5 separate regions of the Homo sapiens genome follow, and regions 2, 3, 4 and 5 are each linked to region 1. The links are contacts of gene promoters, found by promoter capture Hi-C in blood cells and fetal thymus (Javierre and others, 2016). All regions are on one chromosome and are shown on one strand. The core of a region is centred on a gene start or on the middle of the fragment in contact, and the rest is flanking DNA. Distances in the headings are between cores, read along the strand shown. Region 1 holds the start of LINC01181 (long intergenic non-protein coding RNA 1181). Region 2 has its middle 14 kb from the start of CTHRC1. Region 3 has its middle 28 kb from the start of SNORD173. Region 4 overlaps FZD6 (frizzled class receptor 6). Region 5 overlaps LOC105369147 (a long non-coding RNA gene).

Region 1 (5,390 bases), core at 1,289-3,788:
CAGTCCCCAGTCAATAGACATTAGCCCCATTTCCATTCTTCACTGTAGCTGATGCTCTTTATTCTGAGAAAACTCCACTCCCTCCTGAGAGATCGTGAGAGTCTCCCGTGACAATTAGCCTCCTCTAAGCCACAAGACATGGCCACGTTCTCAAGTTACTTTAACAAATGGAGTGCATTGTGAGACACACAAGAACACAGACCAAAAAAAAGAAACTGGGAAGCAGCCTGACAAAGGCAGGTGGAGAGTAGCCCCACCCTGGGCACCAGGCACCTCTGCCCATTTCCTGCCACCACCCATGGCTGTGAGGGGCTCCATGAGCCACCCAGACACTGTCACCATGTCTCCCATCCTGCCAGTTGCTGGGCTTTGGCAACTAATCAGCCTGCATCTAAAAGCAAGGTCATTTTAAGAGGGTCTCTGTGACTCTGGCCTCGCTTGCTGAGTCCAAATGTCCATACAGGAGAGGGGCAGGATCTCTATCACATGGCCCCCTTGCTACCAGTGGAGGGTGTCCAGGTTCTTGGGGTCTTGAACAAAGAACTGGACAAAGTTACAAACAAAGGAAGGAAAGAATGAAGCAACAAAAGCAGAGATTTATTGAAAATGAGGTGGGAGTGGCCCCGAGCATAGGGGCTCAAGAGCCCTGTTACAGAATTTTCTGGGGTTTAAATACCCTCTAGAGGTTTCCATTGGTTACTTGGTGTACGCCCTGTGTAAATGAAGAGGATCAAGTAAAGTTACAAAGACATTTACTGGGTTTACGCCTTGTGTCAATGGTGAGGATATTTCCTGTAATAGCTGAAGTATTTCCATTTGATTTAGTTCTAGGAAGTCAGCATGAATCAGTCTTATGTTCCCTGCCTCCAGACCGTATTCTCCTGTCTCACCCCGGGCAGACGTGGGGAGCTGCTGGCTGGTCGGCTGGTCAGCTGGTCAGCTCCCCTGGGAACAGGGCCCATCCCAATTCCCACCAGGTGTAGCCAGGGTGGTGAAGTCAAGTGGGACAACGTGAGGGCCTGTGCTTAAGGCCCCGTTTCCTCGGAAGGGGTTTGGGGCACTCAGGCATCAGGTACTGTACCTCCTGCCCAGGGATCCCAGAGCTGCCTAGAGGAATTTGAGCAGGCTGGAATTCCTGCTGAGCAAGCAAGGCCAGAGTCACAGAGACCCTCTTAAAGTGACCTTGCTTTTAGATGTAAGCCGATTCAGTCTAGGGGGAAAAAATGACCACATGGAACCACTTATAAGGCTCTCTAGCTTAAAAAAAAAAATTATACACCTTAGCTCACCAAAGTCTCCAGGAAGTAGACATTATCAGCAGCATTCCCATTTGACGAATGAGAAGACAAGCTTACAGAGGTTACCTGAATTGCGAGGATCACACAGCTAGTCAGCAAGGGAGCTGAGACTCAAACCTGCGTCTTCAGATTCTGGTTTGCGCCTCCTTCTGACTGCACAGCCCTGCAGGCTCCAGAACATCTCCCTTGCCGGCTCTGCTTCCTTTCCTCAGCTGTTGAATGGTGATGCTCCCAAGGCCGTCCGTTAGGGCCTGCATTTCTCTCCCTCTCCACACTCTCTCTGGTTGTTCTCATTTACCTCCTTGCCTTGGCCTAATATCAAAAAGTCAGTGGCCCCTAGAACTCTCTCCAGCCCAGATCTTTCTCCTGAGTTCCATACCTATATATCTAATGCCTTACTGGACACCTCCACATGGCTGTCCAAGCCACCTCAAGTGCAGTGTTTCTGAAATGAAACTCATCTTTCTCTGTAAACTGCTTCTCCTTCTGTGTTCTCTGAGTAGCAGTGACTTCACTTCTGAAGCACAGACTATGTGTTAGTTATTTCACACATGCAAGAGCGGGGTATCATCGTCCCATTTTACAAAAGATAAAAGTAAGGCTTGGAGACGTTAACTTGCTTGCACAAGGCCATAGTACCAAGTCGTTGACAGAGCCAGAGTTCAAATCAAACTCTATTCTGCATTTCTCTCACTGGCACAGGCTGCCTGGAAACCATGGGGCCTCAGCTCTTCACTCTGTTGCACGAACCAGAAGTCATGGTTCATTCTTGACTCCTCCAACCCTCCCCACCCTCTTCCCACCCTCACCCACCCCAGCTTCTCACCCCCACAGCTGCCTCAGAGCTGAGTCAATCAGTTCTACCACCTAAATGCTTCGCAAGCTGTGCCTTCTCTCCATTCCTATTGTCACTTCCTTGGTTTAGCCCCTAAATTATGTCTCCCTCATTACCTGAAATAACTTCCTAACTAGTTTCTTTGTCTCTAGTAACAACCCCGCTTCAAGTCCTCTCTCCCTGTGAATGAGCTTTCTAAAATATACCCAATCATTGCATTCACCTGGTTAAGACCTCCAAAAGCTTCCACTACCTCCAGGATAAATCCCAAATTCCTGTTTCTGCTGATGCCTGTATATGCAGGTGATCCCTTGCTGGGTCTCTGAAATGGGTTCATCTCTTCAAGGTTTTTACTGAGACGATATAGTCCTCTTGTTGCACATTGCACTGATCCAGGCCATCTGTACTGTATTCCAATGAGCTACAGAAAAATGCTTGCGTGAGAGCCTTTCATATGCAAAAATAAAGACTGAATTATGCCATAACTATTGATAAGTCTACAGTAATCCATCATGCAATTGTTTACCCAATAGATTGTGTTTATATTGTCTTTGGTACCATGTAATTTGTAAATTTTCATGACAGTGTAACCAGTTAGGCCTAGGGTGGCAGGACTTAAGTGTTGCTGAATCATTTATTACTCCACACCTCATTGAAAAGTGCTTCATAAACTTTCTGAAACTGTTCAACAGACAGAGGGTAATTTGTGCTCTGCCAACAAAGGATTCTGTTGTTGAGTGCCTATCAGCATATTAAAGGTTCAGAGAAAACCAGCAATGCAGAAACTAGAGCAATTTTGTTCTCAGAAGATAGTTTTCTTCTGCACATCCATTCGTTAACATATTCTAAAAGAGTCTGCCCTCAACAGGAGTTTGGGGAAGCACTGGGATAGAGTGCAGAGGCCCTGAGGCTTCTGGAGTTTATCTGACTCTGACATCAGGATGCAAGCACAGACCTGCCACTCTCTCAGGAACATCTTTCGTTAACTCCCGTTTGTCTTTCAAGATTCAGTTCAGATGGCATTTCCTCCTAGTGCTCTTCCTCCCTCTCTGTCTGTCACACACTCACAGGTGCATATGCACCCACACATTTGTGACATGTATAATAATTGCATGGGATTTCCTAACACCCTCTTTCATAATACCTGTCTGTATTTTCTATTGGTTGATAGAAAATTCAGCCCAGACGGATGAGAGCCAACAGGAAATTTATAGGCATTGGAGGCACGCTGCTGCAGCAGCTCCAGCCTCACCCATCCCCACCCTGTCCCAGGTCCAAGTTCAGCAGGAAAGCAGGATTGTCTCATAGGTTTTGTGCCCTGCCTGAGGAAATTCCCCAGATTGTGAATCCCCAAAGGTAGACCAGGGTCTCTTATCCCATATCCAGCCCTTAGCACCTTCCTTGGCATGCCTTGTTTTCAACAAATAACAAATGGGGACACAAAATGTTCAAAGCAAGACTTCTACCTCGAAGGAGTTTATAGTCTAGTTCAAGAGTCACTATGTATAAACAGAATAGAAATACAATAGACCATACAAGGTAACATAAATGCCAAATGAGTGACTTGGGTATTAAGTATCAAAGGAATTCAAAGAAGGGACAGTTTTGGGAGTTGATAAATAAGACATAGATCCTGAACTAGAGAAACTGTTTCTAGTAGGAAAGAAAGGTATGTTACACAGAAAATGCCAATACAGACTGATAAGTATGGGGGCAGAGTGTTCATTACCATGTTCTGTTGGTTCTAGAAAGCTTTTCTTTTTCACTAAATGATTCAAATAATAGCAGCCTTATTTTTCTTGGTCTTATTTACTTTATTTTACTAATAAATTTTTCAAGATGAGAATAGGGGATTTCCTGTTTTGGTGTGTGACTCAGGACACAGGGCCCCACATCGCAGCCTGACACATAGCAGCCTGATTTCATTTCACTGCAGCATCACAGTTTTCCATAACTTCTCTTTTTTTTTTTTTTGACAGAATCCTGCACTGTCACCCGGGCTGGAGTGCAATGGCATGATCTCGGCTCACTACAATCTCCGCCTCCTGGGTTCAAGCGATTCTCCTGCCTCAGCCTCCCGAGTAGCTGGAATTACAGGTGCCCGCCACCATGCCTAGCTAATTTTTTGTATTTTTAGTAAAGATGGGGTTTCACTATGTTGGCCAGGCTGGTCTCGAACTCCTGACCTCATTACCCGCCCACCTCGGCCTCCCAAAGTGCTGGGATTACAGGCGTGAGCCACTGCACCCAGCCCATAACTTCTCTTTTTAGCTGAGCATTTAGCTGCTGTTAAATTCAATTAAGTCCTGCCCCTAGAAGCATGCTGTGGATGACTGCAATAACACTTCTGCCAGAAGACCATGCAGCTGGGCATGTTGACCTCACGGATTAAGGGCTGCAGACATGGTGGGAAATATTTCCTCTCTCTGATAGAACATTTTCCTCTCTGATTTTGCCACTGGAATTTGAACAAATTTCATTTTAAGGGTTGGTCTTCAATGTGCAGGATTTAGACACCAAATCCTCCTGGGCAGAGTTTGGCAGAAGAAAGAGGAAGACCTGGTGATGTATGGTCTCTCACAGTCCCCTGAAGACCCTTCAGTGGCTCCGCATCACTCACAAGACAAAACTCCAACTCTGACAATGACCACCAAGGCCCTCGCTGCCACCTCTAAGCCAGGCTCATCTCTCAGTGCTTCCTAACTTGCATTTTACCTCCAACAGCTCAAAAGTGCTCCTGCTCCCATGCGCCGTATCCCATGCCCTTGCTCGTGCTGTTTCCTGGCCTGACACTCACCACCTGTGGCCTGGTTAACTGTGTTATCCTTTAAGCCTCAGCTCAGCTGTCGCCTCTTCTAGGAATCCTTTTCTGATCCATCTGCCTGTTGAGGAATAAGTGCTCCCATGATACATTGTGTGCACCTCTATTTGTACGAATGAACTAGGGTAGGACTTACCTTTTGCTAGAGGGTAGATCCATCATTAGCATTCCACGCAGGGCACAGCATACAGTGGACATTCAACACAATGTTTGAATGACGATGAATGAATGAATGAATGAATGAATGAATCTTACACAAATGAATGCTTGCCTCTGGCACCTCGACCTCCTCCAAACCCTTTCCCTTCTGGGTGTCTGTTCCATGTTTTCACTATTTTCCTTCCTTCCTTCCTTCCTTCCTTCCTTCCTTCCTTCCTCCCTCCTTCCCTCCCTCCCTCCTTCCCTCCCTCTCTTTTTTCTTCTTTCTTTCTTTTTC
Region 2 (5,390 bases), core at 2,161-4,660, 240 kb before region 1:
AATTCATTATATTTCTGTGGTCCAGAAGGGATGTGAACTCTCCTCTGTTGAACAGCCTTTGCCTTTGTGTTTTTAAAACCACTTTGATTTCTTCTGGTGACAGAATTCTTCTTTAGAGTAAGGAACCCATTCTCATTCTCTGTAGGTCAAGTAGGACTTTGACCCACCACCACTGAGATGGGGTGTGTTATCCAGGCCCCAGCAATTGCAGGGCCCCATTCACTTAGCCACAGTAATTGGTTCAGAGATGAGCAGATGATCTTAACCAGACTAATCAGGGCTTTCCCTAGGATTTTTTATTTTTAAAGCCATTTGCAGCAAATGCTGGCTCTTTCTGCTGGCCTTCCTAAGCTGGCAGAGTATGAGTTTGGGCTGCCAGTTGCTGTTTTGTCTGCCACTGGAGAGAGCTCTTCCAAGAGATAGAGAGAAAGAAAGACATAAAGACCCAAAACATTGTTTGGACCCTGCCTTGAAGTGAGCTGGTACTTTTCAGTAATATGATTCCGTAAGTTCTTTTATTTCCTGTAACACAAGTGTTTTAATTGTAAGATACTTGACTTTTATCCACTTTTTTTATTTTTTGAGACAAGGTCTTTCTCTGTTGCCCAAGCTGGAGTGCAGTGTATGATCATAGCTTACTGCAGCCTCAATCTCCTGGGCTCTAGCAATCCTATCCCACCTCAGCCTCCCAAGTAGCTAGGATGACAGGTACACACCACCACACCTGGCTAATTTTTATTTTTTGTTTTTATAGAGACAAGGTCTGGCTATGTTGACCAGGCTGGTCTCAAACTCCTGGCCTTAAGTGATTCTCCTGCCTTGGCCTCCCAACAGGTGTGAGCCACCGTACCCAGCCTAGCTACATTTTTTATAAGTACAATATGTTCAAAGGCAACATAATACAGTGATTAAAAGTGAGAACACTGGACCTTGGTTATACAAACGATGGTTGAATTCTGACTCAGCTACTTAATGAGCATGATCTTGGACAAGTTACCTAAAATCTAATTGAATTTCAAATTCCTCAAATGAGGATAGTGTTAGTACCTTCTTCATACAATTATTATGTGAAGACCAACTGGGAGGCCAGGCACGGTGGCTCACGCCTGTAATCCCAGCACTTTGGGAGGCCGAGGTGGGTGGATCATGAGGTCAGGAGTTCAAGACCAGCCTGGCCAACAAGGCAAAACCCTGTCTCTACTAAAAATACAAAAATTAGCCAGGTGTGGTGACATGCACCTGTAATCCCAGCTACTCAGGAGGCTGAGGCAGGATAATTGCTTGAACCCGGGAGGTGGAGGTTGCAGTGAGCCGAGATCACACTACCACACTCCAGCCTGGGCGACAGAGCAAGACTCCATCTCAAAACAAAAAAAAAAAACAAAACAAAAAAAGTGCTCAAGACATATTAGCTATTGTTACTTTAGTTAGATAATTAGGGGATTCCATCTAGATTAAAGGAAGTCATGATTCAGTGGAAAACACCTAACTATACATCAGTTTTATCATTCAGTGTCCATCTGGGAAACAAACAACTCTGATTATTTTAGAAGAGTTAATTTAATGTGAGAAATGGATCATCCACACAGACTACAAGCTAAACAGAGCGCAGTTAGGCACCTCCATCCCAAATTGGCAGTAGCTTGTAAACTGCTACCACCCCTAAGATGGAGAGACTTAAGGTGTCCAGTCAAAGTTGGAATCATGTTGGGCTTGTGAAAAAGATGAAGCCACTGCCAGAAAAGCCACCTGTGGCAGAGAAGGCAGATGAGGAATATTTTGGCTTCTCTCTTATTTCTATCATCCAATCTTTGATTGGCTATGCCCAACTGAAGGCCTATGAAACAGGAGCCTTGGAAATAGCCTGCAGAGGTTGGAGCAGAGCCAGGGAAGCTCAAAGAATGGATCTGAAGGCAAACAGCACCAATACGTCCCAGAAGGAGGTTACTGAATTTCTCCCTTCACTGGCTCATGTTCACATGCACACAAATAGCCATAAAATCCAACAGTGTGGCATCTTCACCCACATTCCTAAACACCTAGATTACAAGGCTGTTTGGATTGGTATTAAATGGTCAACCTACCCACACTCTGTACTGATAGACATTAAATATACACCATCCTTACCAGTTTATGAGTGATTGGAATTTTTGTTGTTCTAAGAGAATACAAGTTGTTGGAAAATCATAGACCCTAAGTTACTGGTGCAAGATAACTGAAAGTCCCTGGCCTGCCATTATGATAAGTACATTCTACATGCATCCTTTGTTATTTCTGCATATTTATACAACTGGAAGCTAACACTCTCTGCAGTGCCTGGGGGGAAGTGCTGATTTCTTAGACCTGGAAGAATTCTATTTCATTTATTCTGAATCATAGCATACTATATGCTTTCAACGTGGGTAGTCTTTCATTTCCGGTCAAATTTTCTCCCTTTTTATTAAGTTACACAAAGCCATGCACTTTCTTCCCCTCTTCATTATGCTCTGTGTACAGAGGTTTTTTTAATCAGCATCCTCTGAACAGACTCTGCTTTGTAAGAATTCCTCAGAAAATTGTTCACTGTGCAGATCTGTGTTTGAAAATGGCCACGATTAAAGACATTTCTCAGCAGTTCAGATGACTCTTTGCAGCCTGTGTGTCTCTTTCAAAGTACAAAGAACCACCTGTTTTTGATAAAAGGAAGCCAAAGTAAGCAGGAGTTTTGAAACGGCATCTCAAAACACTTAGGTTTAAAAAATATGTCCAGTTCTCCAGTCTCCCTCCACAAATCTCCATCTCCATCAGCTGCACTATGATTTCTCGTTTTTCTTCTCCAGCTCCTCTGTTAGAGATGCGATTGCATTGTTGGTATAAAGTCATGTTATTGTAGTGGAAATTCAAATAAGCCAATAATTTTAATCTCCTCCCTCACATCACAGGGATTTTAGTAAATGGCAAAGCAAGCTGAATATAGTTTTACCTTTCCCTAAACTAGCCGATAGATAATGCTAAAAAGTGAAAAAATGCAATTGATGGGTGACAGGAGATAGAAAGATTAAGAGGTTTGGATACCGATATGGTTTGGATTTGTGCCCCCACCCAAACCTCATGTTGAATTGTAACCCCGAATTCTGGAGGAGGGTCCTGGTGGGAGGTGATTGGATCATGGGGTCTGATTGTCCTGTTGCTGTTCTGGTGATAGTGAGTGAGTTCTCAAGAGATCTGGTTGTTTAATACAAGTGTGTAGCTTTTCCTCCTTTACTCTCTTCCTCCTGCTCCGGCCATGTAGGACATGCCTGCTTCCCCTTCCGCCATGATTGGAAGTTTCCTCAGGCCTCCCCAGCCATACATACTTCCTGTACAGTCTGTGGAACCGTGAGCCAATTAAGCCTTTTTTTCTTTATAAATTACCCAGTTTCAGGTATTTATAGCAGTGTGAGAATGGACTAATACACATACGAAACAAGAAATTGGTAACTATTCAAAGAACAAAACAAGAGATAATGGAATAATTCATTGTCAATATGGCAAAGAGATTACTGGTTGTGAAGACTTGCTAACCACTGTGTAGAAAATTAAAATTAAGTCTAGGCAAACTCCCTTCCCATGTTCTTTACTGTGATTTGAAAATAATCCATTGGCAATATTATCAGATGCTATGGTAGTATTATCAGAGTTATCAGAAACATCCTCCTGTCACCTTTTCCTTCTAACTCTTGGCTAGTTAATGATTCCTACTTTTTTTTTTTTTTTTTTTTTTTTGAGATAGGGTCTCACTCTGTTGCCCAGGCCGGAGTGCAGAGGTGCAATAACGACTCACTGCAACCTTCTCCATCTGGGCTCAAGCAATCCTCCCACCTCAGCCACCCAAGTACCTGGAACCACAGGCACATACCACCATGCTGGTTAAATTCTGTAATTTTTTTTTTGGTAGAGATGGGATTTCACCATGTTGCCTAGGCTGGTCTTGAGCTCCTGGGCTCAAGTGATCTGCCCGCCTCAGTCTCCCAAAGTGCTGAGATTACAGGCAAGAGCCATGGCAACTGGCCAATGATTCCTATTTTTGTGGACACTGTTGATCCCTTAATTTATGGACTGTATAGAAAAGCATGCTTCAAAATTTATAGATGACCCAAAGCTAGAAGAGATAGCAATATAATGCTCTAGCTGCATGCTCCAAAGCAAGAAAAATATCAGCTGAATAGATGAGGGTATAATGGGGAGGGGGAAGCATGCAGATATTGAATTACTCACTAGCTAAGTGAAAACCAATGAATTCTTATACAGAAGAAAATCACTGGAAATTGAAAAATGAGAGATAATAAAAATTCTCATGTATCCATTAAACAGATATACACATCTACTAATCCCAGCTATATACAAATTTTCTTTTGGGGTTTAAATGCACCAGGTTAGATGCTACCACCAGTTGTATGTGACTGTCATGCTAGGGGTAAGACGGGATGACGTGGGGCTCTACCCCTTCATGGTTTCATGGTAAAATTTCTTCATCAGATAACTGGAGTGCTTGGCATGGGCCTTAATTGTTAAGGTGATTGCTCCCTTGGGTATCACAGGAAATTTGCACCCTTGCCTTACTCCTTTCTACCTTTTCTTTCAGGTAGAATTCTTCTAAGAGCCGGGGTATATCCTCAGCATCTGCTTAATATGTCTCCAGGAATCTCTGCATCTTGGTAACCCTATATTAAGTGTCTGACAACATTTCAAGTTTATGGCTGGAATATAACATTCCTGGGCTACCTCCCAGTCACCCTGCCTTGCCACCCCATATTCATGCACATAGACAAAGACAAAATCCTGCATTTCTACTCTAATTATCTTTTTTTTTCATTTTTGAGACAGAGTCTCAGTCTGTCGCCCAGGCTGGAGTACAGGAGCATGATCTCAGCTCACTGCAACCTCTGCCTCTTGGTTCAAGTGATTCTTATGCCTCAGCCTTCCGAATAGCTGGGACTACAGGCGCACACCACCATGCCCAGCTAATTTTTTGTATTTGTTAAGTAGAGATGGGGTTTCACCGTGTTAGCCAGGCTGGTCTCAAACTCCTGATCTCAGGTGATCTGCTGGCCTTAGCCTCCCAAACTGCTCAGATTACAGGTGTGTACCACCGCGCCTGGCCTGGCTTAATTATGATTATACTGCTCCATATTTACAATTATCAAGGCTGGGCTGATATGGCTACTGAAAACCAAGGCAATCTTAGTGGCATTATAACCACTATAATAAATAAGTGCACTGACAGATGTAAACTGTTGTGCATGCTTAAGAGCAGCTCTCCAGTACTGGGTTCTACTCCAGACAACAGAGTTTAAGAGCAACATTTTGTGAATACAGCACAGGAATGCTTCTAAGTAAAGTGAGCATGATTGTGAAGGGGTTTAGAAACC
Region 3 (5,390 bases), core at 965-3,464, 220 kb before region 1:
CAAGGCAGGTGGATCACTTGACGTCAGGAATTCAAGACCAGCCTGGCCAACATGGTGAACACCTGTCTCTATTAAAAATACAAAAATTAGCTGGGTGTGGTGGCAGGCACCTGTAATCACAGCTACTCAGGAGGCTGAGGCAGGAGAATCAGTTGAACCCAGGAGGTGGATGTTGCACTGAGAAAATGTTGCGCCACTGCACTCCAGCCTAGGTGACAAAGCAAGACTCTGTTTCAAAATAAATAAGTAAATAAATAAATAAGCAGATTCTTAATGATGACATATGATATATTAATAGAGTCTCCTTATAAAAATGTAAACATTACAGATCAGGCTAAAGTCTGCTTTGTTCATCACTTACAATACTGACCCCCTCCACAGAGATAACCCATGTTTCTATATTTTCCTGGACTTCCCCTATGCATTTATATACATGTAACCATAGAAAACATATAGTATTATTCTATGGGGTGAAGGTTGTTAACACACATGGTATCATTATGCATGTAGATACATTTATAAGTAATAATAGAAAATATTAGTGTGGTTTTGTGGGGTGGATGTAGTTTATATACATGGTATTATTGTGTAAGTGTAATTTTGCAAGTTTTTTTGTGCTTAAAAATATTTTGGGAATTGATATGGTTTGGCTCTATGTCCCCACCCAAATCTCACCTTGAATTGTAATAATCCCTACATGTCATGGGAGGGACACACTGGGAGGTAACTGAATCATGGGGGCAGGTTTTTCTTGTTATGGTGAATAAATCTCATGAGATTTGATGGTGAGAGTTCCCCTGCACGTGCCCTCTTGCCTGCTGCCATGTAAAATGTGTTTTACTTCCCCTTCGCCTTCTGCCATGATTGTAAGGCCTCCCCAGCCATGTGGAACTGTGAGTCAGTTAAACCTCTTTTCTTTATAAGTTACCCAATCTTGGGTATGTCTTTATGAGCAGCGTGAGAGCAGACTAATACAAGAATCTTCCATGTCCGTGCAGTTAGATTTCATATGGATTACCTGCTAATTCTTTAGATGTTCGTCCCCCTTGCAAGGGTGAATGCAGTCTCCCCTGTCACTCGTACTCTTGTTGAGTGAAGGCTGTGTTTTTATATTATGTTTGATCTCTTCGGACTGTCCAGGTAGCCAGATTCTGCCTTGTCTACAGTGCCCCCGAGGCGCCCTCCCCCAACTCTTGGTTGTGTTGTATGCCACGTTCATGGTCTTTGCTTTCGTAAAAGAACACCTTTGGATTGCTCACTGTCCATGTGGTAAGCCTGGAAAGGCCTCCCCAGAGCCTGAGGATGCATGACAAGGAGGCAGTGATGCCTGTCAGTTGAGGAAACACAGCCCTCCTGTTTTGTTTTACTGCATCCTTTTATTTGCCCACAGCCTGCCAACAAGGTCAGCTCCAGAAACACAGAGTGTCATTCTTTTTCACATGGAGCCTGCACTAATAGAGGTGGCAGTTAAGAGGCTGGAAATGCCAGCAAGTGTTTTGCCAGTGGTCAACTTTGTTTACAAGTCTGGAGGTTTCTGTTTTATGAGAATTCTCATGAGGGGACACTGGGCTGACAGTTAGGAAGGACTAAAACCATGAGGGAAGCTCTTACCTTGCTGGTGAGTTTCTCTAGATAATGTGTAGTATGTATATTCAGACTTATTTCCTCACAGTGAAACTAATTAGATCCTGGAATAGGTCCCTAAGGAAATAAACCCACAAACTAGACAGTTTTACTCTAGTTAGCACTTGGGAAAGAAGATATTCAGATATTTCATTTTCTTGAAACTTTAGAAAAAAATTTTTTCTTAATCTCTATTGATTTTGTGCCTCTCTTTTCAACATATTCTAAATGTATTATAATTATACTTATAATTAATAGTATATAAACATAAGTATTAAATGTAAGCTTTAATAGACTCTACACTAGGTATGTTTGTTAAAACCTAATCTAAGTGAAATAGTAGAAAATACTTAAAGTGTGTTCAGTATTAATGAAGATGAACTATGGCATGTGTTTAGAAAATAATTTATTTGAAAACTTTCTCTAAGACGTTTCTACCAAGACTTAACTAGGTTTGTCCTCCTTCATGTCCTTTTTCTTTTTGTGGTGGAAAATTAGAAAACCTGCACTTCAACGTTTTCTCTGGCTCTTTTTTCCTTCTAGGGATAGAAAATACAAATCTCAGAATTGGCTGCTAAATTTACTCACCTTAGCAATAATTTTCCATCTGTGTTTATTTCTAATTAGTATTTACTGCCACAAGTCTTTCTCATTTTCATTTCATTGTATTTCTTTCCATACTGCTTCCATTTGGCTCCCATCCTTCAGTAATATTCATAACGAACTTCACTATGCTTCTCTCCACTACCGCCTGGCTCTGGATCCCAATGTCTTTGATCATTTTGGATTAATCTTTTAATTTTTTCTTGCTCTTTGTCGACACATTTTCACTGTAAGTTAATGAAAGTTTTGATTCTTCTGCACATGACAGATCACAGGGGCCACGGTTAAAGCTTGGAATTTAAGTATCTGACTTGTGCAGTGGGCAGTGAGGTATTCAATATCATGCCTTCCATGCAGAAAAGCAACTGCAGAACTTCTTGTGGTTATTACAAATTGTATCTTTCATTTCCTGAGAGTAACTGCCTGCTTGGCAAGGTTAAAACTTTCCAGCAGTAGGAACTGGAAACACCCACCTGTGGTAAGTTTCTGAGAAGATCAAAGAGTAAGAAAGCACTAAAAAAAAAAAAAAAAAGTAAGAAAGCACTAAAACTGTGATTTTGATGATGGCTGGCAATTATGATCTGTTTTCAGTCTAGTTTGATCAAGAAAGTGTAGGGAAGATTTCTTCAGAACCATAAACAGCATAGCAGTGGTGGATCCCATTGGGTATCCTGGGTCTTTTTGAAACATGGCATTTCATAAAATTTTGTTGAAGGTTTGTAGCAGACTTTCAAAGTGAGGGTTTCTAGCAGACTTTGCTGCTTTGGGTTTACCTGCACAGTGCTCGTGCCAATTTCGTTATTGTAAATGTAAATATGTAATTTAAGCCAACTTTCTTGGCTGAAAACTGTTATGTAATTCTTATAAAAATTAATGTCACCTTTTCTGAGACAGCAGGCTTTTTTTTTTTTTTGAGACGGAGTCTCGCTGTGTCACCCAGGCTGGAGTGCAATGGCACAATCTTGGCTCACTGCAATCTCTGCCTTCTGGGTTCAGGCAATTCTCCTGCCTCAGCCTCCTGAGTAGCAGGGATTACAGGTGCCCACCACGACGCCCAGCTAATTTTTGTATTTTTAGTAGAGACAGGGTTTCACCATGTTGGTCAGGCTGGTCGACAGCAGGCTTTTTTTTTTTTTTTTTTTTTTTGCCTCAAAGACTCTAGTCCCATGAAAAAGAAAAATTGCTTTTTAAAAAAATTAAATAATGCTTCTGAATTTTGCTATTAAAAATAAATAGTTTTAAAATTCAAACTTACTTATTACAAATATTGTAATATTGCCCAGGGCTGGTAAATAATTTAGAATATAGGTACATATAGATGCACATTTTAAAACTCCTAAATAAATCACTAACAAATCAAATCCAGAAGTATTAAATGATACATCATGATCAAGTAGGGTTATTCAATGAATTAAAGGATGGCATTATGTTAGGAAATTTATTTAACACAACACATTAGTAGATTGAAATGCTGGCCAATGGCTTAGTAAATCTGTTTCTCCTCCCTCTCAGGAAGACATCTAGATTTATGCCTGAGTTCTGGTAAATGAAATGCAGCTGGAAATGTTGCATGGCGCTTTCTTTTCTTTTCTTTTTTTTGAGACGGAGTCTTGCTCAGTCGCCCACGCTGGAGTGCAGTGGCGCGATCTTGGCTCACTGCAAGCTCCGCCTCCCAGGTTCACGCCATTCTCCTGCCTCAGCCTCCTGAGTAGCTGGGACTACAGGCGCCCGCCACCACGCCCGGCTAATTTTTTGTATTTTTAGTAGAGACGGGGTTTCACCGTGTTAGCCAGGATGATCTCGATCTCCTGACCTCGTGATCCGCCCGCCTCCGCCTCCCAAAGTGCTGGGATTTCAGGCGTGAGCCACTGCGCCCGGCCTGCATATCACTTTCAACTCTAGCTCATGAAGCTTTTTTCTGTGCAGTCATTTACTCTCTCTCTTACTCAGTGGGAGATGGCAGAGCCACAAGATGGAAGTGGTGGTTGCTTGAATTTGGAAGGCTACCTCAAGAACATTCACACCTGTCGCATGAATAAGTTTCTAAAGCTACTGCGATTTTGAGGATTGTTACAGAAGTTAGCCTCATACTGACTAATCCTGGTAGCAAAAGGGCATTTGATAAAATTCAGTACATATTCCTCATTTTTAAAAACTTATAAGATGGAATAGGATTCTTTTAACTCATTAAGAAATACCTATCTTATGTCAAATGCCAACATTGTTCTTCATGATGAAGTACTACAGGCATTTTCTTTAAAATAAAGAAACAAGACGAGGATGTCTACTGCTACTACTATTAATGTTAACTGGCTACAAGTTCCAGCTAATAGCTGAGGAATAAAATTACCATTATTTGAGAGGAAAAAATCATCCACCTAGAAAATCCAGGAAAAATCAACTGCAAAATTATTAGAGGGATTGAGGGACTTTAATAAAGTCATCTGCTACAAAATAAATATTACAAATTAATGTTTCCTATATGATCTTTAAAAAGTAAATTGTGTATCTTGAAATACATTATATATAAAATAATCATAAAACAAAAAGGTACTATGAAAAAAGAACAAAATTTTTAAAATGCTGTGAAATTAAAAAATGATAGCCAAAAAAACTTCAATCAAAAATTAAAAAATACATTTGATAAAGTTTCAAAGAAAAAAATCCAAAGAGATTGGCAAAAGGAGAGGAAAGATGAGAAAATTAAAGGATCCATCCAGGAGTCCAATATCTGACTAAAAGGTGAGAAAAAGCAAGCAGAAGGAAGAAAATTATAAAGAACATTTAGCTGATTTGGATGACTAAGCTTTATTCAAATTTCCTTAGTTTTTATCTAATGTGCTTTTTTCTTTTCCAAGATACCACATTACATTTAGTTGTCATGTCTCCTTCAGCTCCTCTTGGCTGTGATAGTTTCTCAAACTTCCCTTGTTCTTGAGGATTTTGACTCCTTTTGAGGAGGACTGGTCAGCTATCTTGTAAAATGTCCATCTGCTGAGATTCATCTCATATTTCACAACTAGAGTGAGGTTATAGGTTTTGGGAATATCAGAGGTAAACTGCAATTTTCATCACATCATATGAAAGGTAACACTCTCAACATGACTTACCTCTCTTTTGACTTTGATCGCCTTCTGAGTAGTGAGGTACCTCTCGCTGAGTTT
Region 4 (5,390 bases), core at 229-2,728, 200 kb before region 1:
ACTATTTTATTCAATCATATATTTTTCAAGAAGACATGGATTATTCCAGTGAAATCACTTGCCAGAGTCACCAACAAACTCCACATTGTCAAATCTGATGGTAAATTCTGAACATCCCTTCTACTCAGCTCTTAACAGCAATCGACACAGTGACTCCTAGCTTCCTCTTGAGGCCCCTTTTGCACTTGTCTTCTAGGACACGAATTCTCTTGGATTTCTGGCTGTCTCACTGGCTGTTCCTTTTCTAGTCCTCTTCCATTTCCCAATTATGATCATTGAAATGCTCCAGAGCTCAGTCCCCAAGACCTCTTCTCTATCTCTACTGACTCTCAAGGGAAACTCATCCAGTCCCCATGTCTACTGTGAACCACAGACTTGAATGAGCATCTGCTCCGGGACAACTCCATTTGGCTGTTAATGGGCATCTTGAACCCAAAGTATGCAAAATACAACTCAATCCCACCGTATCTCTGCCTCCCAAACACTCCCTTAGTACTCTCCATCTCAGTAAATAATGCCACCATTTACCAAGTTGCTCAGGCCAAGAATCTTACAACTCATTCTTTTTTCTTTCTTTCTTTCTTTCTTTTTTTTTTTTTTTTGAGACAGAGTCTTGCTCTGTTGCCCAGGCTGGAGTGCAGTGGCATAATCTCAGCTCACCACAACCTCTGCCTCCCAGGTTCAAGCAATTCTCCTGCCTCAGCCTCCCAAGCAGCTAGGACTATAGGCGCATGCCACTACGCCCGGCTAATTTTTGTATTTTTAGTAGAGACGAAGTTTCACCATGTTGGCCAGGCTGGTCTTACAACTTATTCTTTACTCCTCTCTTCTTTCACTCCATCTCCAACCCATCAGCAAATCCTGTTGGCTCTCCCTTTAAAGTATATTCCAAATCTGACCATTTCTCACTATTACCACCCAGTCTAAGCCACTATTATCTTTCACCTCAACTACTAAAATGGCCTCCTAACAGGTCTCACTACTTCCCACACTTGCTAATCTTACAGTCAATTTTCCAACCAATGCGATTCTTTAAAACGTAAGTTTATCCTTGTTCAAAGACTCCAGTAAAATAAATTCCAAAGTCTTTTCCAATTCCCATGAGCCTTTAAATTTCCGTGTTCCCCGCTATGTCTCCAGTTTCATTTCTGACCACTTTGTCTCTTATTTACTCCATTGCCACTAAACTGGACTTCTACTTCTTATAGTTCCATGTGTATTTCTGTCTCAGAGTCTTTGCACTTGCTGTTCCCCTCACCTCTTCACCCAGATAGTGAGTCTTGTGCCCTCATTTGAGTCTCCACTCAATTCACCTCAAAGAGGCATTCCTGCCCATCCTATCTAAAATTATCCTGCTCTTATCTTTCCCATTACCATGGTTTGCATTTCTCTTAAATCCTTATTACTATCTGGCATTTCATTATGTACTAGTTTATTTAATTTTTGCCTTTACCACTAGAGTGTAAATTCAAAGAGGGAAAGGATTTTGTCTATTCTGTTCACTGCTCTATCTCCAGTGCCTAAAGCAGTGTCTGCTACATGGCCATTTCTCTATATTTACAGAATAAATGCATGATTCTCCAAAACAATAAATGAACACTGACAAAGCATATCAATAAAACATTTCAGAGCATCAAGACAAAGAGAAGGTCATAAATGTTTCCAGAGGGGGGAAAAAAACAGAATACATGTAACTAAATTAAACTGTGAATATTTGACAATATCAGAAGCTAGAAGAAAATGAAAAAATGACTATAAAATTCTAAAGAAAAATGCATTTCAACCTAGAATTCTAGATCCACCCAAACATTTAGAGAGTAGACTACTGACATTTTTGGCACTGTAAGGAATACAAAATTTAAACTTTCAAGTATCCCTGTTTAGGAAGCAACTAGAAGATGTAATATTCCTGAAACAAATTGAAGGAATATATGAATAAACAAGGAAGGAAAATAATATGGGACCCAGGAATTAGCTGATTCAACACTGAAGAATGACAAGAGAAATTCTCCATGTGACAACTACAAATCTAGTCCAGAAGTAATCAGAACACATTTGACAGAAGGGCAGATGGCTGAAGAAGAAAGGTCTCCAAGGGAAAGGAGCGGGGATTGAGATTGACAGAGTATATGTTATTTTGAGCACTAGGAAAATTGCTGCTAGGTGTATGACAAGTCTGTTAGGATATCTAAAAATAGTCAGACATTGTTACATAAAAAACAAATGAAAATACAACTACTGTGTTAATTGTTGGGAGGGTATTAAAAAAATAAATGTAATCAAAGTATACTACCTGACTCAGCAGTGTACAATATTTAATATTTCTAGTAATATTATCACTGACTATTCATTTAATCAAAAACTGTATCAGGAGGAGAAGTAAAAGTGGCAGGGTAAGAGAAATGAATTATCAATTACCCTAATAGGAAAGAATAAACAGAAACGGCCTAAAGTGCTAAACTGATTAATCTATAACCAACAGAGTAAACCTGTTAGTTAGAATGTGGCCTGCATACCAGAGGAACACCTAAAACAGTTCAAAGAGGCTGCCTCTCAAGGGCAGGACTGGGATATGGGTGGAAAAGGGTGGGCAAGGACTGTTATTTTTCTGTTCAAAGCCTTTTAGTATTGAGGGTTTTCTTTTCCAGCTTTATTCAGGTATAGCTGATGTATGATAAACTGAACATGTATAAAGTGTACAATTTGATAAGTTTTGAAATGATTATCACAATCAAGGTAATAAATGTATCCCTCACCACCAGAAGTTTCCTCTGGCTCCCTTGTCATCCCTCCTGCTCTTCCATCCTCCTCACCCCCTCAGTAACTCTCACGCCTGACAACAACTGATCTGCCTTCTGTCACTGCGGAGTGGTATTTTCTATAATTTTACGTAAGTGGAATCATATAGTGTGTTTTCTTTTTTGTCTGGCTTCTTTCACTTAGCATCATTGTTTTGTGATTCAGTCATGTTGTCTGATGCATCAGTAGTTCATTCCTTTTAATTGCTGAGTAATATTCCACTGTATGGCTGTACCATAATTTTCTTAACCATTTACCAGTTGATGGACAGTCTGAAGTGCACATTTGAGTGTGAAATATCTACTAGCAGGCAGTTAAATAAAGCTACGTAGAAGTGAGACTTTAAATTAAGGATATGGATTTACAAGTCATCAGTATAAAAGTGGTAATTGAAATAACTGGCTGAAATTACCTAAGGAGAATAAGTAGAGTGAGAGAAGATGAAAATTCTGATTCAAGGGAAATACACTGACTCTATATATTAGCATCTCCTTCCACTCGAAATGCCATTGAAATGAAAGAAAAGGTTTAAAGGTAAAAAACAAATCCATAACTGCATTAAAAAAATAAAGAAAGGGCTCCCTATAAGCTTTGGGAAATTTTTGAAAGATAAAAAGAAGGAATGACAACTTCTTTCATCAGTATGGCCAACTAAATATCTCCTGCCACAAAACATTCAGGTTCTGGATAAAGTGCAACACATATACTTTGAAATGCATTGCTGAGCACTGTATACACCTTAAAAATAGCCTTAAAACATATAAACAAAAAGCAATAAAACTATAAGGAGAAATGGACACTTCCATGGTCATGAGAAATTTCAATATATCTGCTTTAGTAAATGAACGGTCAAGCAGACAAAAATTAATAGGTAAATATAAGCCTTGATTACAGACTACAATTAACAAGTCTGACTTAAAGGGCATATACAGAACCCACACCCAACAATTAGAGGACAATAGCTATGAAGGATGTTGGACCAGTGGGAAGTTCCCCTGTCCTGATGGGGCAAGTGACTGAGCAGAGACAGGGTTGCCATGGTTGACATATATTATTGCTTTTATTTGAATGATGCTCTGAGATTGGATCCTTTGTCACCTCACAGGAACTTGGAGTGCAAACAGCACAGTACTTTTCTCAGTTTCCTCCATCGTGAAGGGGAGAGAGTGCCCAGACAGTGTGCAAATCCTCCTCTGAGCCTGAGGTAGGAGAAGGGGAGCTGCGGGCAACTAGTAAACTGTGGTAAACTCTTTGTTTACTGTCCCAAAAAAGCCTAGTTCCTAAATTTTTTGACTATGTGGTAATCAGATCCTTTGGTGGAAAGAATTAAAACACACTATGTTTATTTAATTCTTCTAACTCAGAAGCCATGATTAACTGGTGGTCAGCACTTAAGAAGTAATTATATAGTTCAAGGGCAGGCAAAATGAATGCAATACATGTACTTTTGCTATACAAAAACAATTTTCTTACATGGAAAACACAAGTCACTTCCCTAATTTAATTCTTTTACAGTGCCAAAGTTGGCTAATCCAATAATGTTGATGTTCCTGCACTGTGTAGAGGATAAACTGAATGCTGAAAACTCAGATACCTTCAGAGGCCAGGCAGGTAAATGAAAATGCCTGTAAGATGATAGGGAGTATTTGGGAAGCTGCTGCTACTCAACTCCAGCAGACTATTATTTGGAAATGGGGGCATAGAATTGTCAGGTATATCCATTTTTCCTAAGAAAACAGAACCTAGATTGTTATGTGTAATTTCCCAAATTTTAGATTTTGGCACTTTAATCTATACATTTGAAACAGGGCCCCCCCCTTCCCTGACACACACACACACACACACACACACACACACACACACACACAGAAAAATCAAGTCTCAGGTCAGATCCAGTGTGGGCTACCAACTTCCAAGTTCAGTTGCAGATGAATAGACTTAAAGAATTTTAGACTTGGAAGGGACTTGAGAGAAAACCTTTAAGTTAATTATTTTCGAAGTGTATGTGTGTCTGTGTGTGCACACATGCACACTTTGCCAAGAAACATTTTCTTTAAATAAGAAGTTAAAAGGAGGCCGATATACTAAATAAATAAAGGCATAGTTTCTTGGGCTGAAAAGGAAGCTCTCCCTGCTGAGATACTTCTCACCATTCCCCTTTGCTACCAGTGACCTCAGAGCACCTCCAGAGATCACAATTGGAAAACCACTGACCTAATCTAAGCCCTTGGATCAAGTGAGAAAACTGAAGCCAATTTCTTATTAAAATTGTTACTCACATTCCAAAATGTACTCTGAATTAGAAGTTAGGTATCTTTATTCCTGATCGAATGCTACTTTTACCAATTCTATGGCTACTGATAATAAATCAGAGCTTTGGCTTATTTGGTACTTACCATAAACCAGGCACTGTGCTTTTTCATATACCATTTTCCTTTATCACAACCTGTTCTTCTCTCCACCTTGCAGCTGAGGCAACTGAGGCTCTGAGAGGTTAAGTAACTTGTATAGTCACAATAGTAGTAAGAAGCAGAACTAGGATATGAACCTATGTTCCTAGGACTCCAGAGTATGTCCTCTTTAACCTTCAC
Region 5 (5,390 bases), core at 1,340-3,839, 150 kb before region 1:
AAAATAACCAAGTGGAAATTTGGAGTTGAAAATTGCAATAACTGAAATCAAAAATTCACTAGAGGGGTTCAAGAGTAGATTTGAGCTTGTAGAAGAAAGAAACATTGAACTTGAAGATAGATCTTTTGAGATGATTCAGTTTGAAAAACAGACAGAATAAAGAATAAAGAACAAGGAACAAAGTCTCAGAAAAATGTGAGACACTATTAAGGACACCCACATATACATTAGTGTGAGTCACCAAATTAGAGGAGAAAAAGGACAGAAAACATTTTTGAAGAAACAATGGCTGAAAATTTCCCAAATTTGATAGAAAACATATACCTCTAAGAAGGTCAGTGAATTCCAAGTAAGATAAACACAATCACTTTCCACTTTTAAAATGTGGAAAGACAAAAAGAAAGTCTTGCAAACAGCATGATAAAAATAATTCATCACATACAAGGAAATCCTAAGATTAACAGCCAGTTTTTCACCACAACAGTGAAGGCCAGAAGGCAATAGGACAACATAGCAAGACCCCATCTCTACAAAAAACAATAAACTGGGCTTGGTGGTGTGCATTTATAGTTCCAGCTACTTGGGAGGCTGAGGCAGGAGGATCACTTGGGCCCAGGAGTTCAAGGCTGTAGTGGACTATAATGGTCACTACACTACAGTCTGGGCAACACAGTGAGATCCTGTCTCAAAACAACAATAATGACAATAAAACCTCCCCCCGAATTCCCAATAATAGTTGGAGATTTCAATACTCCAGTTTCAATAATGGATAGAAAAATGAGGCAGAAGATCAATAAGGAGATGAAAGAGTTGAATGGGGCCATAAACCAACCTGACCTAACAGAGATATATAGGACACACTCCATCAACATTTTGCTCAAGAATACACATTTACAACAGAATACACATTTTGCTCAAGTGAACATGGAACATAATAGACTATATGGTAGGTCACAAAACAAACCTCAATAAATTTAAGGAGAATGAAATAATACCAAGTATCTTTTCCAATCATAGTGGAATTAGATTAGAAATCAATAACAGACATGGGAAACTGGCAAATATGTAAAAATTAAACAACATGTTATTAACCATGGTTTGAAGAAAAAAATCACAAGGAAAATTAGAAAATATTCAAGATGAATGAAAACAAAACATAATATATGGAAACTTATGGTATACACCTCATGGAAAACCTGATCCTAAAATTCATATGGAAATGAAAGATATCTAGAATAGCCAAAACAATAATGACATGAAAAGAACAAATTTGGAGTACTCACACTCCTGATTCCAAAACTTACCACAAACTTCAAGTAATCAAGATTGTGTGTTATAGGCATAAGGATAGACATATAGATCAATGGAATAGAATGGAGAGTCCAGAAATAAACTCATAAATCCCTGGTTAGTTTAGTTTTGACATCAATAGGTGAAAGAATAGTCTTTTCTGCAAAGGATATCCACATGCAGAAGAATGGATGTAGACCTTTATTCACATCATACACGAAAATTAACTCAAAATGCATCAAAGACCTAAATGTAAAAGCTAAAGCTATAAAACTCTTAGAAGAAAGTATAGGAGTAAATCTTTATGAACTTGGGTTAGGCAGTGGTTTCTTAGATATTGCACCTAAAGCACAAGAAACCAAAGAAAAATAAATAAATTGGACTACCGAAAAATTAAAGCCTTTTGTGCTTCAAAGAAAGTATGAAGACAATGAAAAATAACTGACAGAATGGGAGAAATCTGGAAATCACGTGTCTAATAAGGTTATTGTATCAAGAACATATGGAAAACTCTTACAACTCAACAATAAAACAAATAACCTGGTAAAAAATGAGGAAAGTACTTAAATAGTAATTTCTCCCAAGAAGATATATAAATGGCCAATAAACACATGAAAAGATGCTCAACATCATTGGGAAAATGGAAATAAAAACTAAAACAAAATTCCACTTCACACATGCTAGTATGGTTATGAGAAAAAAAAGACAATAACAAATGTTGGTGAGGATGTGGAGAAAATGTGTATACTAGCTTGTTCTCATACTGCTGTAAAGAACTACAGAGACAAGGTAATTTATAAAGAAAAGAGGTTTAGTTGGCTCATGGTTTCACAGGCTGTACAGGAAGCATTGCTGGAGAGGGCTCAGGAAACTTACAGTCATGGCAGAAGGTGAAGGGGAAACAGACATGCCCTACATGGCTGGAGCAGGAGGAAGAGAGTGAATGGGGAGGTGCTAGATACTTTTAAACAACCAGATCTCATTAGATCTCACTCACTATCGTGAGAACAGCAAAGAGGAAATCCGCCCCAATGATCCAGTCACCTCCCACCAGGCCCCTCCTCCAACACTGGAGATTACAATTTGACATGCGATTTGGGTGGGGACACAGAGCTAAATCATATCTTTCTGCCCCCAGCCCCTCCCAAATCTCATGTTCTTCTCACATTTCAAAACACAATCATGTCTTCTCAACAGTCCCCCAGAGTCTTAACTCATTCCAGCATTAACTCAAAAGCCTAAGTCCAGAGTCTCATCTGAGATTAGGCAAGTCCCTTTTGCCTATGAGCCTGTAAAATCAAAACAAGTTAGTTACCTCCAAGATACAATGGGGGGTACAGACATTGGGAAAATGCTCCCATTCCAAAAGGGAGAAAAATTGGCTAAAACAAAGGGGCTACCAGGCCCATGCAAGTTGAAATCCAGTAGGGCAGTCATTAAATCTCAAAGCTCCAAAATAATCTCCTTTGACTTCATGTCTCACAGCCAGGCCACACTGATGCAAGGGGTGGGCTCTCAAGGCCTTGGGCACCTCCACCCCTGTGCCACTGTGGGGTACAGTCCCCAGGGCTGCTTTCATGGACTGGTGTTGAGTGTCTGTGGCTTTTCCAGACACATGATGCAGGTTGTCAGTGGATCTACCATTCTGGGGTCTGGAGGATTGTGGCCTTCTCCTCACAGAGGAGCAGTGCCCCAGTGGGGACTCTGTGTGGGAACTCCAACCCCACATTTCCCCTCCACACTTCCCTAGAAGAGGTTATCCATGAGGGCTCCACCCCCACAGCAGACTTCTGCCTGGACATCCAGATGTTTCTATATAGCTTCTGAAATCCAGATGAAGGCTCCCAAGCCTCAACTCTTGTCCTCTGCACACCTGCAGGCTTAATACCACATGGAAGCCACCAAGGTTTATGACTTGCACCCTCTGGAGCAGTGTGGCCTGAGATGTATCTGGGGCCCTTTAAGCCAAGGCTGGATCTGAACTGTCTGGGACGTAGGGAGAAATGTCCTGAGGTTGCACAGGGCAGCAGGGCCTCAGGCCTGACTTCTGAAACTACTCTTCCCTCCTAGGCCTCTGGGCCTGTGTGGCAGGGAGGCTGCTGTGAAGGTCTGAAATGCCTTCCAGTTCTTTTCCCCATTATCTTGGCTGTTAACATTTGGCTCCTCTTTACTTATGCAGATTTCTGCAGCTGGATTGAATTCCTCCCCAGAAAATGGATTTTTCTTTTCTATCACATGGTCAGGCTGCAAATTTTGTAAACTTTTATGCTCTGCTTCCCTTTAAAATACAAGTTCCAGTTGTAGATCATCTCTTTGCTCATGCATACGACCATATTAGAAGCAGCCAGGTCACTTCTTGAATACTTTGCTGCTTAAAAATTTCTTCTGCCATATACCCTAAATCATCACTCTCAAGTTCAAAGTTCCAAAGATCCCTAGAGCATGGGCACAATGCCACCAGTCTCTTTGCTAAAGCATAGCAAAGGTGACCTTTGCTCCATTCCTAATAAGTTCCTCATCTCCATCTGAGACAACTTCAGCCTGGACTTTATTGTCCATTTCACTGTCAGCATTTTGGTCACAATTTAACAAGTCTCTAGGAAGCTCCAAACTTTACTTCATCTTCCTTTCTTCTTCTGACCCCTCCAAACTGTTCCAACCTCTGCCTGTTACCCAGTTCCAAAATTGCTTTTGCATTTTCAGGTATATGTATAACAATGACTCACCTCTCTGTTGCCAATTTTCTATATTAGTCCATTTTCACAATGCTAAAAAGAACTTCTTGTAATAGGATAATTTATAGAGGTTTAATTGGCTCATGGTTCCACAGGTTGTACAGGAAGCATGGCTGGGGAGGCCTCAGGAAACTTAGAATATAGCAGAAGGTGAAGGTGAAGCAGACATGTCCTACATGTTTAGAGGAAGGGGAAGAGAGCAAAGTGGGGAGGTGCTACACACTTTTGAACAACAAGATTCTGTGAGAACTCACTATCATGAGAACAGCACAGGGGAAATCCCCCAACCATGATTCAGTCACCTCCCACCAGACCCCTCCTCCAACACTGGAGTACAATTCAGCATGAGATTTGGGTGGGAACACAGAGCCAAATTATATCACTGGGATGCTCATTTTTGCTGGTAGGAATGTAAAATGTAGCAATTGCTTTCTATAACAATTTGGCAATTCTTTAAAAAATTAAGGTTATCAAATGACCCAGAAATTTTATCCAAGAGAAATTAAAAACCTATGTCTACACAAAAAGTTGTACTCAAATGTTCAGAGCAGCATTATTCAGAACGGCCAAAAAAAGTAGGAACAACCCAAATTTTCATCAACTGGTGAATGGATAAATAACATGTAGAATACTCATACAATGGAATATTATCTGGCCATAAAAAGGCATGAAGTTCTAACACACGCTGCAACATAGATGGGCCTTGAAAACATTATGCTAGGTGAAAGGAGCCAAAAGACCACATTTTATATGTGGCCATTTATATAAAATGTTCAGAATAAGAAAATGTATAATGACAGAAAATATATTAGCATTTGTGTGGGGCTAGAGAGGGCCTAACAGGGGAATGGAGATTACTGCTGATGGACACTGGGTTTCTTTCAGGGGAGACAAAAATGTTCTAAAATTAGATTGTGATGATGGTTGCACAGCCTTGTGTTTCTACTAAAACAATTAAATGGGTGAATTATATGGTATGTGAATTATATTTTAGTAAAGCTGTTTTAACAAAAGTAAGAGATTGTGAGACAGTTGGATATAGGACACTGTATCACAGGTTCAAGGAATGTTTATTAGATCTCTGGTAGTTTAGAGAGCAAAAATCCCTTATCCACACTAAGTGAACACATACATCTCTTTGCCCCTGGAGTTTCTGAGTATTATGTTCTTTGTCACAATTACTGGAATAGAACCAGTGCTGCTGTCAATTGGGAATTGATGAGTGTTAACAGCATGAAACCAACACAGATGGTGCTGGGCAATGTAGCTCCATGGGGATCTGAGAGTTCTCCTAATATGGGCATCTTTTTCTTGAGTTGCAGCTGACATCTGACCTCTAAATAGCAGAGGTGTTGGGAAAGGCTC

Evidence for each region. Contacts are between HindIII fragments. The CHiCAGO score rates a contact against its expected background, and 5 or more counts as called.
Region 2: a fragment that was not itself captured here is called in contact with the fragment with the promoter of LINC01181 in region 1 in 1 of 17 cell types (erythroblasts); the score reaches 5.4 in erythroblasts.
Region 3: a contact is called between a fragment that was not itself captured here and the fragment with the promoter of LINC01181 in region 1, in 3 of 17 cell types (megakaryocytes, naive B cells and total B cells). The highest score is 6.4, in megakaryocytes.
Region 4: a fragment that was not itself captured here is called in contact with the fragment with the promoter of LINC01181 in region 1 in 1 of 17 cell types (megakaryocytes); the score reaches 6.0 in megakaryocytes.
Region 5: a contact is called between a fragment that was not itself captured here and the fragment with the promoter of LINC01181 in region 1, in 2 of 17 cell types (megakaryocytes and endothelial precursors). The highest score is 8.6, in megakaryocytes.

The regions. Positions count from the first base shown.
Region 1 is chr8:103,118,180-103,123,569 of GRCh38, reverse strand. LINC01181 (long intergenic non-protein coding RNA 1181) reads right to left here and starts at 2,538. Exons shown (of 6, transcript NR_145429.1): 1 at 2,357-2,538. RefSeq lists an enhancer at 1,000-1,501. The HindIII fragment of the contact is 1,509 bases long and covers 2,379-3,887 here.
Region 2 is chr8:103,354,497-103,359,886 of GRCh38, reverse strand. No RefSeq gene overlaps it. Among named protein-coding and RNA genes, the nearest start is that of CTHRC1, 14 kb to the left of the region's middle. The HindIII fragment of the contact is 7,742 bases long and covers 1-5,390 here.
Region 3 is chr8:103,333,929-103,339,318 of GRCh38, reverse strand. No RefSeq gene overlaps it. Among named protein-coding and RNA genes, the nearest start is that of SNORD173, 28 kb to the right of the region's middle. The HindIII fragment of the contact is 608 bases long and covers 1,911-2,518 here.
Region 4 is chr8:103,313,038-103,318,427 of GRCh38, reverse strand. The region is part of intron 2 of FZD6 (frizzled class receptor 6); the gene reads right to left. Among named protein-coding and RNA genes, the nearest start is that of SNORD173, 6.8 kb to the right of the region's middle. The HindIII fragment of the contact is 3,824 bases long and covers 1-3,390 here.
Region 5 is chr8:103,269,217-103,274,606 of GRCh38, reverse strand. The region is part of intron 1 of LOC105369147 (a long non-coding RNA gene); the gene reads left to right. Among named protein-coding and RNA genes, the nearest start is that of FZD6, 27 kb to the left of the region's middle. The HindIII fragment of the contact is 6,521 bases long and covers 1-5,390 here.